Linked DNA regions of Homo sapiens: region 1 is linked to region 2. The links are contacts of gene promoters, found by promoter capture Hi-C in human tissues and cell types (Jung and others, 2019). All regions are on one chromosome and are shown on one strand. Each heading gives the region's core, a stretch centred on a gene start or on the middle of the fragment in contact. The rest is flanking DNA. Distances are from core to core; before and after follow the strand shown. Region 1 holds the start of LINC01166 (long intergenic non-protein coding RNA 1166). Region 2 holds the start of VENTX (VENT homeobox).

Region 1 (6,570 bases), core at 3,484-5,983, 280 kb after region 2:
GCCAATACATTTGGCAATTACAATGAAATGGGGGAAAGTCCTTGAATAATACAATTTACCAAAACCACCTTAGAATAAAATGGAAAATCCGAACGTCAACCCAGACTGAGGGGCACTCTGCAAAGTCGCTGACAAACACTCACAAAAATGTCAAGGTCAAGAAATACAAAGAAAGGCTACAAGAACTGTTGAAGAAGGATGGAAATTAGGACTTTGAAAAGGTCATAGGCCCGCGGTCCTGGATTAGATCCAGGATGTAGTGGGAAAAAGCTAAAGGGATGTTTAGGCACAATTGATGAAATCTGAGTATGGACTCTGGATTAGATATTTCATTGGTGTGAACTTTCCTGATTTTGACAGCTATACTGTGGTAATGAAAAGAAGTGTCTTTGTCAGGAAGTACACGCTGAGGTATTTAGCAGTAAAATGGCATAATTTCTTCAACTCTCAACTCACCCTCCGTCGATTCAGGGAAATGCGCATATGCAGACACAGGCACATGCAAACACATGTAAACACATGCAAACACATATAAACACGCGTGAACGGCAGAACAGCAGGAAGGTAACGCCAGAGAGAATTGGGAACAGCAGGAAGGTAATGCGTGAGGAGAAGTGGGAATGGCAGGAAGGTAATGGCATGAGGAGAAGTAGGAACAGCATGAAGGTAACGCCAGTGAGAAGTGGGAACAGAGGGAAGGTAACGTCGTTGAGGAGAAGTAGGAATGGCGGGAAGGTAACGCTGGTGAGAAGTGGGAAAGGCGGGAAGGAAACACCATTGAGGAGAAGTGGGAACGGCAGGAAGGTAACGCCGTGAGGAGAAGTGGGAATGGCAGGAAGGTAACGCCAGTGAGGAGTGGGAACGGTGGGAAGGTGACACCGGTGAGAAGTGGGAACCGCAGGAAGGTAACGCCGTTGAGGAGAAGTGGGAACGGAGGGAAGGTAACGCCAGTGAGGAGTGGGAACGGTGGGAAGGTGACACCGGTGAGAAGTGGGAACCGCAGGAATGTAACGCCGTTGAGGAGAAGTGGGAACGGAGGGAAGGTAACGCCAGTGAGGAGTGGGAACGGTGGGAAGGTAACGCCAGTGAGGAGTGGGAACGGTGGGAAGGTGACACCGGTGAGAAGTGGGAACCGCAGGAATGTAACGCCGTTGAGGAGAAGTGGGAACGGAGGGAAGGTAACGCCAGTGAGGAGTGGGAACGGTGGGAAGGTGACACCGGTGAGAAGTGGGAACAGTTGGTGAATTCGCCTAAGGCTCTAATGGCAGTTCCTTGTCGTATTCTTGTGACTTTTACATATGTTTGACGTTGTATCAAAATGGTAAGTTGGGAAAAACCCTCAGAGCAGCTCATCCTCAGACCTGCTGAACAGTCTTCAAAGACGCCAAACGGTGGCAGCCGCGTCTTTGTGAGGCTCTTCTGGCGACGGCGCTGGCGCGGACCTGCCCCGGCAAAGTGTGCGTGTCGGGAGGCAGCACCCGCCCGCCAGGCCTGGCCACAGTGGGAGGAGGGAGGTGGCGCAGCAGCCGCTGGGCGTCCTGGGGGTGACCTGGGCTCACAGAGGGCAGGGCCTAGGGCCACGCCGATGAGCCTGTTAAAGTGCCTCACAGTGTCATTGCGACTCATAACCATTCTCACCGTTGCTTATTTTACGTGGCACTTGCTTGTGTCCACCCAAACTGCCTGACCACGAACCCAGAAACCATGAATATTTTGTCCCCGACCGTTGGCCGCGCCCTAGAACCAGGCCTGGCCCAGGCTGGGTGGGTGGGTGTGAGGGATAAGAAGAGAAATGGCAGGCAAGTCGGTTTTAACATACAGAACAGGTGGCCACGCGGGACAGACCCTAAAGCCAAGGTTCTTTCTGACCTTATCATGAGGCTGATCCTTGGAGCGCAGGGAGGCGGCCGCAGGGTGAACAGTGCCCTCTGTGTAGGCTCCGGAGCAGAATGGTCATCATGGACAGGCCGCCGGCTGCTGGGCTGTGACTGTTCTGAGGCTGAAATGGGCAAACAGCCTTGCCTCCTCTCCACCTGCAGCTGCAAGCCTGGACAGTCGAGGCACCCCGGGAACCTCCCCTACGCTCATGTCTTGCTCGTGCATTTCTGAGCTCCCCGGCAGTTCAGCCTCCCTTGTATTAAATCCTGACAGGAAGCTTGGATTAAGACCTCGGTAGTGCTAAAGCCGTTGCTCTCTGAACCCATGCTCATGGGGGATGAATCTTGTCTCCCCAAAAGATATGTTCGAGTCCTAAGCCCTGGTTCCTACAAACGTGACCAGTTTGGAAACAGGGTCTTCGCAGATGTAAAAAGTTAAGGATATCATGATGAGATCATCTTGGATTTAGTATGGGCCTGAAATCCGGTGCCTGGCATCCTTATGGGAGAAAGGAGAGGCTTGCAAAGATGGAGGTGGGGCTGGGCGATGCTGAGGACACCCGGAGTCACCAGAAGCAGAAGCGCCGAGGAGGGATCTCCCTGGAGCGAGCAGCTCTGAGGGAGCGCAGGCCTACACCTCAATCTTGGACTCTGGCTTCCGGAACCATGAGGGAACAAGTGTCTTGTTTTAAGCTGCAGCCCAGGAATCCGCCTCCCTGTGGCTCACCAGTCCCCTTGGGCACATCTTCCCTCTCCTAATGGGGTAAAATCAGGGGCAATGTGCTGTGACCTGTGGCTTTGGGGGTGCTCTCAGGAGCGGCCTGGGGCTGAGCAGGCAGGGAGCCTCTACCTGTACCTACTGTGCCTGCTCCCTGTGAGGGCTGGGATGCCCCCCCGATGCTGAGCAGGTGCCAGGAATGTTGATGGATGGATGGATGGAGAGAGGGATGTTGATGGACGGATGGATGGAGGGAGGGATGTTGATGGACGGATGGATGGAGGGAGGGATGTTGATGGACGGATGGATGGAGGGATGTTGATGGACGGATGGATGGAGGAAGGGATGTTGATGGACGGATGGATGGAGGGAGGGATGTTGATGGACAGATGGAGGGAGGGAGGAATGTTGATAGACAGATGGATGAAGGGAGGGATTTTGATGGACAGATGGAGGGAGGGAGGAATGTTGATAGACAGATGGATGGAGGGAGGGATGTTGACGGACAGATGGAGGGAGGGATGTTAATGGACTTATAGAAGGGATGAAGGGACGGCCAGTCCACCACCAAGCAAGGATGAAACCCTAGATGCAAATCAGGCTCCGAGTCAACTTATGGGAGTTCTTTGATAAAAACACATATTCATAAAATGAGTCACAAAGGCCCTTGCATTTTTCATTTTCAATCTGCATTTGTAAACATCTTTACTCAGCTTCACTTTGTACAGGGAGGTCTTCGAAATTTTAATTTCAAGCTCAAAACATGAGGGCTGTTATTCTGGCCCACTTTTTTTTTCTTGGAAAAGATAGGAAGCTCTTCGCCAAAAGAAAAATAAGTCACAAGCTTAATAAATAACGAAGCACAAAGCAAACCACTCATGCTCAATTTTTCATACTTCTATGAATATTTCAGGAAATAATAGATGGCCTTAGAAGACTATCATAAGGCTGGCAGGGACCCGGAGCTGGGGACAGCCACCTTCTTCTCTCAACCCTCTTGATGTCATTTGTGTAAAATTAATGCAGGAGTTGGTTTCATTTTCTAATTCATCGAGAAAGGATATTTCTATTCACAATGGCATCTTCCAGTTACCCATCCAAGACTTCGGTGGTGCGGGGCAGGGGAGCCCCCAGGTGGGGCTGAGCCCCGACGGTTCTTGGCTTTACCCTGGAGGGAATTCAAGGGCAAGCCGCAGGTAGAAGGAAAGAGCTTTATTCAGGCGGCCGTGCCACAGCTCACAGCTCCCTGACTGCTCCTGCAGCGGGGCCGCCCCGTAGGCAGAGAGCAGCCGCTTGGGGCAGTTTTGCAGTCACACTTATACCGCTTTTAATCGCATGCAGATTAAGGGGCGATTTATGCAGAAATTTCTAGGGAAGGGGTAGTAACTTTTGGGTCATTGAGTCATTGCCATAGAAGGGGGCGGTAACACCCGGGTGTTGCTATGGCAACGGAAAACTGACAGGCACTCGGGTGGGCGAGGCTTAGGGAAAGCTGCTTCCGCGAGCCCTGCTTTAACTAGTCAATCCGGTCCGGAGTCCAAGTACTGCCTCTGGAGTCGACTCCCACCTCAAACCTCACTCGAATGATGGCGTCCCAGTCCTCTCTCAGAAGACGTCCATCAGCAACGTGATTCTGTCCTCCCAGCCAAGCTGGCAGCTCCCGGAGCCCCTGCCCTATCGCTGGTCTCCCGGGCTGTGCAGGCCCTGCAGGGACTGTGAGCCCTCCTCACGCGGAGGAAGCAGAGGGGGCTGGACCTGCCGGCCTGGCACATGCACGTGGAGAGGCCGACTGTTGTGCACACTCACGCAGGCACACACACACTTGCTCACACACACACTGAACTCATGCTCACACATGCCTGTCAGGCTCACACTCACACTCGCTCATCCGTGCACTGACACTCATACACGGCCAGCGTCCTAAGGCGGAAGAGTGAAGGAGAAAGGCCTGCACTCCAAGGCTGGGCTGCAAGTGCAGCGGGGGTGAGGGGTGGGGGATCGCCGGAGCAGGTGTGCAGCAGGGGTGAGGGGTGGGGGATCAGGGGAGCAGGTGTGCAGCAGGGGTGAGGGGTGGGGGGTCAGGGGAGCCAGCATGTGGTAGGGGTGAGCAGGTGAGAAGTGCCGGGGAGCAGGCATGAGGTGGGGGTGAGGGGTGGGGAGCCCCCGGGAGCAGGTGTGTGGCAGGGGTTGGGGGTGAGGGGTCCTGGGAGCAGGCATGCGGCAGGGGTCACATTGAGCCGATCTTGATGTTTCTGGTTTTGCCTTTCTTAGCCCTCAGCCCCAAATTCTTGCTTACACTTCTAGAAATAAATTACAGCCAACCCGGTCAACACGTTTCCAAATTTTCCAAGACGTTTGCTGACGTCGTTAGCTGGTGACATCCTCTTCTTCACATTTTTAAAGCTTAAAAATAAAAGTCCTGGATCCAAGTCAGACGCCAGCATTTGCTGCTTCCCCTCCGTCTTCTGAGCAGATCTGAGCCTGGGGTTCCGGCTGGGTTTGTTGTTAACTCATAGATACAAAAAACGTCTCCCAGCCCTGCCTCCCTCCGCCGTCCGCCCACAGGGCCTGCAGCCTGAGGCTGGCTCCTGCCTGAGCCGCGCGCTCTCAGTGCGAGGGGCCGTGGGGGTGTCCCTCTGTGGTGTGGCTCCGGACCAGGGGCCTCTGTCACACTCTGGGGCAGCAGTGTTTGGGAAGAGCTGTCACCTGTCGAGGGAATGCCCCTCGGGATGGCACCACCCTGGTGGCTCTGACACCCACGGTGACCAGGGAGGGCTGAGGTGGGAGCGCGTTCTGGCTGAACCACGTGGGAGGCGGCATCTGGGGACGAGGCCTCGCCGTCTGTCACCAGTGACCCTTGGCCGAGCGTGAGGACGGCTGTGTCCCCAGGCTGCAGCAGCCACGCACCAGCACCACCTCCCCCGAGCCCCTCACACCCCCTGTCCACAACCCCATTCGTGGCACCCTCGTCAGTGGTGGGGCGATCGTCCCCTTGGGTCCAATCTGGACGCTGGGGCCGAGGCCACCGGACGCCAAGGCCACCCGTTGGCTCCAGGCCGGCACCTGTTCTCAGAAGAGATCTTGCCTTTGCCAAGGCTGGCCCTGGCCTCGGGCCTGAGACAAGAGCCCAAGTGGGAGTTGACTGGGGGGGGCCTGGGGGGCACCGGAGGGGTGGGGATGTCAGGAGAAAGAAGGTGATGGCCTAGGAGCCTCAGCGAGGCCTGGACAGGGGACGGGCAGAGGAGCCTCCTTAGTCCCCGTCCAGGTGAGAAAGCCGTGGCCTCCACCCAGGTGCCCACCTGCCCCGGGGGCCTGATTGTGGGTCCCCACCTGCATGCGGGGCGTCCTCTGTATGGCTGCCAGTTTGGGGCATGGCGAGGGCCCAGGGACCTGTCTGACTCGAATTCCTGGCGGGAGCCGGGTTTGAGGCACACAGGAGCCTCGGTGCTGAGTCGGGGGCAGGTCGGCCCAGGTGACATCACACCCACCCTTGTGTGAGCCGCCAGGAGGAGCCCAGGCAGGATAAGGACAAAAGGTCAACCCTGGGGCAAGGAAGCCCAGAAGGTGCCGGCATGTCTGTGCCTGGGGTGGGTCCACCCTTCCTCTCAGGGGCCGGCGATGAGTGTCCGGGAGGAGAGCCCTTGGCCTCAGCGTGCACTGACACCAAGGTGGCGGCGCCTCCTCGGCTTATTCAGACAGCAGGACGCGTCAGAGGAGAGGCTCCAGTTTGGGTTGCCTTTCAAGCAGCGACATCAGAAATGCCCCGTCTCTCCTGGTCTGAGGGATCAGGAGGGTCTAGACCAAAGGGCGGTTACCCACCCAGGACAGCCTCTGTCCCTCTGGGAAGGAGAGGTCGCCTTGGTCAGAATCCCACCCTCACCTGGCCAGCCCAAGTCTCCCCTGGGACAGGAGGAGTGGAGGCCACCCCTTTCCAGACCCTGATTGAAATACCAGCTGAGAAGGGAGACCGGCATC
Region 2 (7,358 bases), core at 283-2,782:
ATGCCCTTCCCACAGCCTTCCAGGCCGGTAAGGTAAGAATCCATTATATGCAAAGGCCTGGCGACCCACCCAGGGGCACCCATCCCTGTCCCGGGCTCCGTCTCCTCAGCCAGCGGAGGCCAACTCAGTTAATCCCCAGGCCCACTGTGGTCAAGTCTGTTTCCTAATTTCTAAGTTAAGGAATGGGGGCTGGCACCAAACGGCCCCACGAGGTGGTCTGTGGAGCTGGGTCTGGGTCCCAGGAAAGGCCAACGTGGCCAATCGAGCTCGACATTAAATGCAAGTCTGACCAAAATGCTCGCTGGAGTTTCTGCGGAAGGAAGCGTATTTTACAAAATCTGTCTTAACGTTAGCCTGAAAGCACATGGTAGACCCAAAAAGCAAATGCCTTCTGGCAGGGAGGGCTGTAGGACTGGCATCAGAAAGGGGGTTGCGGGACAGGGATGGCTGGCTTTTTTGGGGTGGGGCAGGATAGCTAGCTGGGGAGAATACATTTAAATTTTCATTTCCCTTAAGTACAAAGTCACTCCATAAGGATCAGTCAAATTTTTAAAAATGAAAACTTGTAGATGATGTCAACCCCACTTTTGACCAAGTACTACCTTAAACCTAAAAGTGGTGATGATGTCACAAAGACTAAAACACAAACGCAGAGAACCTTTGTTCTCAGCAGACAACAGAGCATCTGGGCGGCCACAGAGGGAACTTCAGAGTTTCTGCAGGCATCGGGGTCACCGCCACCCCTGCAGCGAACCTGCAGGCTCTTTAAAGACAGCTGTGCTCCAGGTGACCCGGAATGGGCTTGAGCCTAGACGCTGAGCAGGCACCGGCTGTGCTGGGGGGCGGGGGCGGGGGGCTTGGCAAATCATCGAGACTTTCAGTGAGCGCCCGGAATCAGGGCAGGGAGGTGCGGACGGGGACCCCTTGGACGGTCCCTCGGCACCAGGCCGGGGTGGGGGACGAAGACACAGCTGAGGAACGGGGTGACAAAAGGAGGCAGAGGAGCCCACCGGGGGCTCAAGGAGAGGAAATCCCCGTCAAGGCTTTGGTTCCGAGGGAAGCTGCGCTCCAGTGAGGGCGCCGGCAAGGCCTCCGCCGGCCCTCATGGAAACGCCCCCGGCCCTGACCTAGTGGGCAGGGCACCGCGGGGAGTGCAGCCGCCGGGCTCCTGGCCTCTCCCCCACTCCCATCTCCACCTGGGAAGGAAGGGACCCCCCCCACCCGGACCTACCGGCCATGGTCCTCTCCGGCGCAGGCAGATTTGAGGACCCGGCGGCCTCCTTGATGCTGACGGCCTGAGGGGGCTCCCGGGCGCCGGATGTCTGGCCTGGGCCAGGGAGGCTCCCCAGGGAGAAGTCGGCAGGCCTGGGGGTGTGGGTCGGCCCTGAGCAGCTGCTCTGGGAGAGCCAGTCCACGGAGCCAAAGCTGGAGAGCTGCTGCGGGCCACGAGGTGGGGAGGAGGAGAGGCGCATGGCGGCCAGGTGGGCCGGAGGGAAGGCCAGGCGGGGCTGGCCAGGCGCAGGATCCACCTCGGGCCTCGCCAGGCGGCGGCGTTTATAAGCCCAGGAGGAGGGGGCGGGAGCCCGGTTTGCATACACGGCTAATGCCCAGATAAGCAGCGCCTAATTGCCTTCGATTCAGAGGCACAAAGGAGGCCGTTCACACCTCCCCGGCTCCTCGATGTCTGGGGGAGGGGCGGGGCTGCGGGCCCTGGTTAATGGAGAGGCGATGGTTCGGGATCGGTCACCTCCTTTCATCTCTCCCAACCCCCCACCCCGCGGGCCGAGGCTGCAGGAAGGTAGGAGGGTCCCACTCCCACTTGGGCCTGTCCTGGGAGGTGCCGGGCGACCTCTCCTCTCCAGGGGGACGCTGGCGCCTGTGCCCAGCCCGGACACCCGAGGGCGAGCAGGCTTCAGGCTGGGAGAGTCAGGGCGGACTTAGGTTGGGAGCAGGCTTCGGGGTGGGAGAGTCAGGCCGGTGCCCGCGTGCGCTGCGTCCAGGCTGTGCGGCCGCGCAGGAACCGAGGGAGGCTTTCCCGGGAAAGAGACGCGGAGGACCCGGGGAGCGGCGCGCGGGGGCGGGAATGTCGGGAGGGGCCTCTCGGGGGACTCGGCCGCCTCCAGCCCTAATCCGGCTCCTCTGGGGGACTCACTCCGGGGCCATCGCAGGAGCCTCTGCATTCGGGCGCGGGCGGCTCCCTGACTCCATCCCGAGCTGGAAGGGCCGGAGCCACTGCCTCGCACGGCGGGGTAGGAACTCCGCGTCGGCGGCGGGACTGGTGCGTCCCCGCCAAGCCAGGCTGTCCCCACTGTGGCCAGGGCGCGGGCAGAGCCGCCGGTGACTGTGGCGCCCAAACCTCACGGGGACGCCCTGAGCACGGGCCCCCGGGACGGTCATAGCCACGCGCGGCCGCTGCTCCCACGAACCTGAGTCCCGAGCTGTCTGCGTCTCCGCGTCCCCGGGTCGCCTGCGCGTCGGCGTGGGGCGCGGGGACCGACGTGACCGGGTGGGAGGCAGCCATGCCGAGGGTAGGACGGTGTCTTCCGCGCACTGGCTTGGGGTCCGCACGGCGTCTCCGGCGGCCGGAGTTAGGCGGAGGCGCAGGTCCGGCCCCCGAAGCCATGCGGGGTTTCGGCGCAGACGCGGGGTCCACGGAGCAGCCCCGACTCCCGGCCAGGTCCTGACCGCGGCTGCCTCAGCGCCCACGCCGCCCGCGGAAATCAGAAAGACCGGCGGGCCTCGCCCCACGGTTACGCCCGCCCCAGCCAGCCGAGCCTCCCGGGCTGAGCAAAGAGGTTGGAGCCCGGGAGGCGGGCGCTGGGGCGGGACCTCAGCCGGGAACCGATCGGCGGCCTACCTGGGGTCACAGGAGAGGGGTCGCGGAACGGACCGTGCCGCCGCTGACCCTGGTCTTCCTCGGACCCTGCCGGCCCAGTTAGGTCACTGGGCCCTCAAGGGGGAGGCTGGCGGGGGTGGGGCGCTGGGGGCTTTGGACGTGGCCTCGGGGGTAAAGCCAGGAGGGGTGGGGGGCCAGGAAGCCGGCCTAGACCCCCGCTGCACTTCATCTCCGGAGAGACCGGGTCACCCCCGGTAGAGGGGCTTTGAGCCACTGCACAGGACCGGCAGTGTGTCCCGGCCAGGGGCAGCGAGGGCCCAGATGCCTGTGGCCACAGGGCTGGCCCCGAGGATGCCCCATGGGGCAGGTCCCCAGCACTCCCGCAGTGGGGGCGGTGCCTCAAAGTGGAGCAAGACAGCACACCTCACACATCCCGCAAAAACATACAGAACGTTCGACAGGCAGGGAAAAGGCCCAGAAGCTTCCCTTACATAAAGAGGAACACCACGAGCATGCATTTCCGAAACGCCAGCACCCAGCCTTCCATTTCTCCATTTCTAATTTCCGGGGCCCAGGGCCCCGGTGTCTCAGCCCCCTTCTGTACGTGGTTCAGCACCCCCACCCCCAGCTCTACATAGAGCCCCTCCTGCCGGTTTCCCAGCCCCCCGCCACCACCTCCACCTGAACCGCCCCCTCCGATCCCCCCAAGCCCGAAGACAACCTCACCTTCACACGGCAGGGTCAGGCAGCCCCTCTCTCCTGCCCAGCGGCCCCACCACCGTGGCTCAGGCCTCCCCGCCTCCTGCAGCCCGGGCCCCTCCCTCCACCCTCCCTCTAGAGCCCGCCGAGGCTGCTCTAGCCCAGGCTTGGGGGTCCCCAAAGCCTCCGCCTCCAAGCCTCCGTCCACCCCCGGCTCTGGGACGCGCCCTGATGCGCTGCCATGGGTAGGAGACTTGGGCGCCCCCCTGCCTCCTTCCTCCCAGCCCCTGGGGCAGCCCAGCCCCGTGAATTGCGCCCCGCACGCCCCAGAGCGTGGTCCCCGCGGGCGTCGCCCTGTCCCCCACCCTCGGGGGCCAGGCCGGGTTGCGCTGGGCAGGAAGTCCCGCGTCACTCCCAGGCCGACAGCACCGCCCCCACGCACAGCCCGGAGTCCAGCTAGTCCCCGAAACGCGCTCCCCCCGAGTCCAGGGCCTGAGGACAGACACCGGGCCCAGCGCGTGCTGCCGGCCCCGTCGCGACTCGCCCGAGCCTCCTCCGAGCACTCTGGGACCACCTGAGGGGGAGGCCAGCTACTCAGGAGGCTGAGGCAGGAGAATCTCTTGAACCTGGGAGATGGAGGTTGCAGTGAGCCGAGATCGTGCCCCTGCACTCCAGCCTGGGCGACAGAGTGAGACTCGGCTGAAAAGGCTGCACATTGTATGATTCCATTCATATGGCCCTCTAGAAAAAGCGAAACTATAGGAACAGAAAATAGATCAATGGTTGCCAGGGCTGGGAGTCAGGGAGCAGGTGACTATAAAGGGACACAAAAAAAGTTTCTTGTTGTTATGGAAATGTTCCGTAACTCAATTGTGGTTTTGGTTGCACAACTATATGTATTTTTACAAATTCGTAGAACCGTACACTACAAATGGTGAGTTTTACTGTATGTGAATTACACGTCAATTAACCAGACTTTAAAAAAAGTTTGTAGAGATTCCCCAACCCCTCCCCAACACCCACCCCTGTGGCCTCGGCCTCCCTGACATCCCACGTGCCCCCTTCCCCGACGCCCCACGATCCCCGCTCCCCAACACCTCCACGCCCCCCTCCCCGACACCTCCATGCCCCCCTCACCGACACCCCACGCCCCCTTCCCTGACACCCCCACGCTCCCCTCCCCGACTCCCCCACACTCCCCGCTCCCCGACTCCCCCATGTTCCCCGCTCCCCGACACGTCCACTAGGAAGTGGGGCTGGTCTGGTGCATGGCCGATAAAGAAACGCTAAGCCGGCCAGGTGCGGTAGCTCACGCCTGTAATCCCAGCACTTCGGGAGGCCAAGGTGGTCGGGTCACCTGAGATTGGGAGTTCGAGACCAGCCTGACCAGCATGGTGAAACCCTGTCTCTACTAAAATACAAAATTAGCCAGGCGTGGTGATACATGCCTGTAATCCCAGCTATTCGGGAGGCTGAGACAGGAGAATCGCTTGAATCCAGGAGGCGGAGGTTGTGGTGAGCCAAGATCGCACCATTGCACTCCAGCCTGGGCAACAAGAGCCAGACTCCATCTAAAAAAAAAAAGGTAACGCTAAACCAACTGTGCTCAGACACTGGCCCCATTAAACAGCACACAGGAGGCTAATCCTGCCATGCCTACAGAGCGCCTTACTTATTTTGGAGACAGGCTTTCACTGTTGCCCAGGCCGGAGCGCCTCATGTGATCACAGCTCACTGCAGCCTCGATCTCCAGGGCCCAAGTGATCCTCCTGCCTGAGCCTCCAGTGAAGCTGGGACTGCAGGTGCGTGCCACCATGTCCAGTTAATTTTTGTGTATTTTGTAGAGATGGGATTTTATCATGTTGGCCAGGCTGGTCTCAAACTCCTGAGCTCAAGTAATTCTCCTGCCTCAGCCTCCCAAAGTGCTGGTATTACAGGCATGAGCCACCGCATCTGGCCCCTAGATTGATTTAAACAGCCAAAATACACTCTCTGCACCAGATTAGAAAGCATTAGAGGTCCGGGGCCCATGTATTCAGATTCATTATTCTGATACCGGGCTCAGGAGGATCATAGCACGTGGCCCCTGCCCCACTACCTGAGTAGGAAGGCAGATTAATTCTGCTTGGTGCCCCTAAATTGCTCCAGCCCAGAGATGGGTCCTTCCTCCAGGGCCGAGTGTCCAGTAACCCGAGTGATAGAGCGGCACAGCCCCCACCCTTAGGGTGCTGGTGTGTTTGCTGGGATGTGGCTGTCTGGACCTGGGCTTGCTGTCAGCAGTAACCTTCTGGAGCGACAGGGTCATGTAGGGTGCACCTAAGCTCTGTTTCAGACCCCACTGTGGCCTCAGCCTGTGACTCTGACCTTTGGGGGCTGTGTATGTGAGGGGGAATGTTTGCAAGCTTGGCTCATCCAACAGGCTTTTAGCAGCTTGAAGATTCTCAGGAAACACAGCAGGGTGGAGCTGATGTGAGACGGGGTCTCACCATGTTGCCCATGCTGGTTTGGAATGCCTGAGCTCAAAGTGATCTTTCCGCCCAGGCCTCCCAAAGTGTTGATATTATAGGCGTGAGCCACCTAGCCTGGCCTAGGGTGTCTATTTTTTTTTTTTTTTTTTGAGACGGAGTCTCGCTCTGTCACCCAGGCTGGAGTGCAGTGCACAACCTCCACTTCCCAGGTTCAAGCGATTCTCCTGCCTCCTCCTGCCTCAGCCTCCCGAGTAGCTGGGATTACAGGCTCACGCCACCATGCCTAATTTTTGCATTTTTAGTAGAGATGGGGTTTTACCATGTTGGTTAGGCTGGTCTCAAACTCCTGACCTCGTTTGTGATCTGCCCGCCTCTGGCCTCCCAAAGACCTGGGATTACAGGCGTGAGCCACCGCGTCTGCCTTCAGAGTGTTTTTTTGTTTTTTGAGACAGAGTCTCTGTTGCCCAGGCTGGTGTGCAGTGGCGCAATCTTGGCTCACTGCAACCTCCGCCTCCTGGGTTCAGCACTTCTCCTGCCTCAGCCTCCCGAGTAACTGGGACTACAGGCACCCGCCACCACACCCGGCTAATTTTTGTATTTTTAGTAGAGATGGGGTTTCACCATGTTGCCCAGGCTGGTCTCGAACTCCTGAGCGAGCTCAGGCAATCCACCCACCTCAGCCTCCCAAAGTGTTAGGATTACAGGCGTGAGCCACAGCGTCCGGCGCCTCAGTTTCTTAAATGAGGTGAGGCTTGGAGTCAGTTCTTGCAGGCGTGGTCTCACAGGCCTCCCCCTCAGACCTGGGCAAGCCGTTCATTTCCCCAGGAGCAGCCTTTAGCACTAGCGGGAACTATTCTTCTGGATACCCAGAAAAGCATGTGCAGGAGGGGCTGCAACCATACCACCCACAGGGAACCCCTCAGGACTGCTGGGTGCTGGGCCAGCGGGGACCCCCCCAGCCCCATTTAGCTGCATGGCCCTGGGCAAACCACTTGTCTTTCTGGATGGGCCCACTAATTTGCAGGCATTGTTATGCTAGCGGAACTCCTCCAGGCTACATTTGTATCTCCGGCTCCAGCCAATCCCTCTTCTGACTCAGGGGTCCAGGGTGGGGCCCTCTATTGCTACTTGGAAAATGCTTCCTGGGCAGGTTTGCTTCGGTTTTCTCAAAATTGCAAGGACCCTGCCCTCAGCCTCTGCCCAAGGATCACACCCCAGACGCTCAGCGCCTCCCTAGGCCCACCCAGACCAGAGCCACCTCCCTGGAGACAAAACCAGCATCCTCCCTGGAGCTCTGTGGCTTCTCTTCCCCTTTTGTTTCCCAGGACCTGGGAGAGTTCAGCCGGGTGGTCCAA

Evidence for each region. The method cuts DNA at HindIII sites, captures the fragments that hold promoters and counts their contacts. A contact is called where the count stands out against the background at its distance.
Region 1: a fragment that was not itself captured here is called in contact with the fragment with the promoter of VENTX in region 2 in 3 of the 25 tissues and cell types used here (H1 embryonic stem cells, dorsolateral prefrontal cortex and mesendoderm cells).

What each region holds. Positions count from the first base shown.
Region 1 is chr10:132,959,794-132,966,363 of GRCh38, reverse strand. It overlaps LINC01166 (long intergenic non-protein coding RNA 1166), which reads left to right and starts at 1,075. Exons shown (of 2, transcript NR_120627.1): 1 at 1,075-1,178. LINC01167 (long intergenic non-protein coding RNA 1167) reads left to right here and starts at 4,127. Exons shown (of 2, transcript NR_125763.1): 1 at 4,127-4,605; 2 at 4,900-5,024. It overlaps LINC01168 (long intergenic non-protein coding RNA 1168), which reads right to left and starts at 830. Exons shown (of 3, transcript NR_046231.1): 1 at 457-830. RefSeq lists an enhancer at 3,634-4,529. The HindIII fragment of the contact is 3,871 bases long and covers 2,798-6,570 here.
Region 2 is chr10:133,232,029-133,239,386 of GRCh38, reverse strand. VENTX (VENT homeobox) reads right to left here and starts at 1,532. Exons shown (of 3, transcript NM_014468.4): 1 at 1,232-1,532. The coding sequence starts at 1,472. RefSeq lists enhancers at 745-1,348, 1,349-1,953, 1,954-2,557, 3,767-4,371, 6,789-7,358. The HindIII fragment of the contact is 13,892 bases long and covers 1-4,627 here.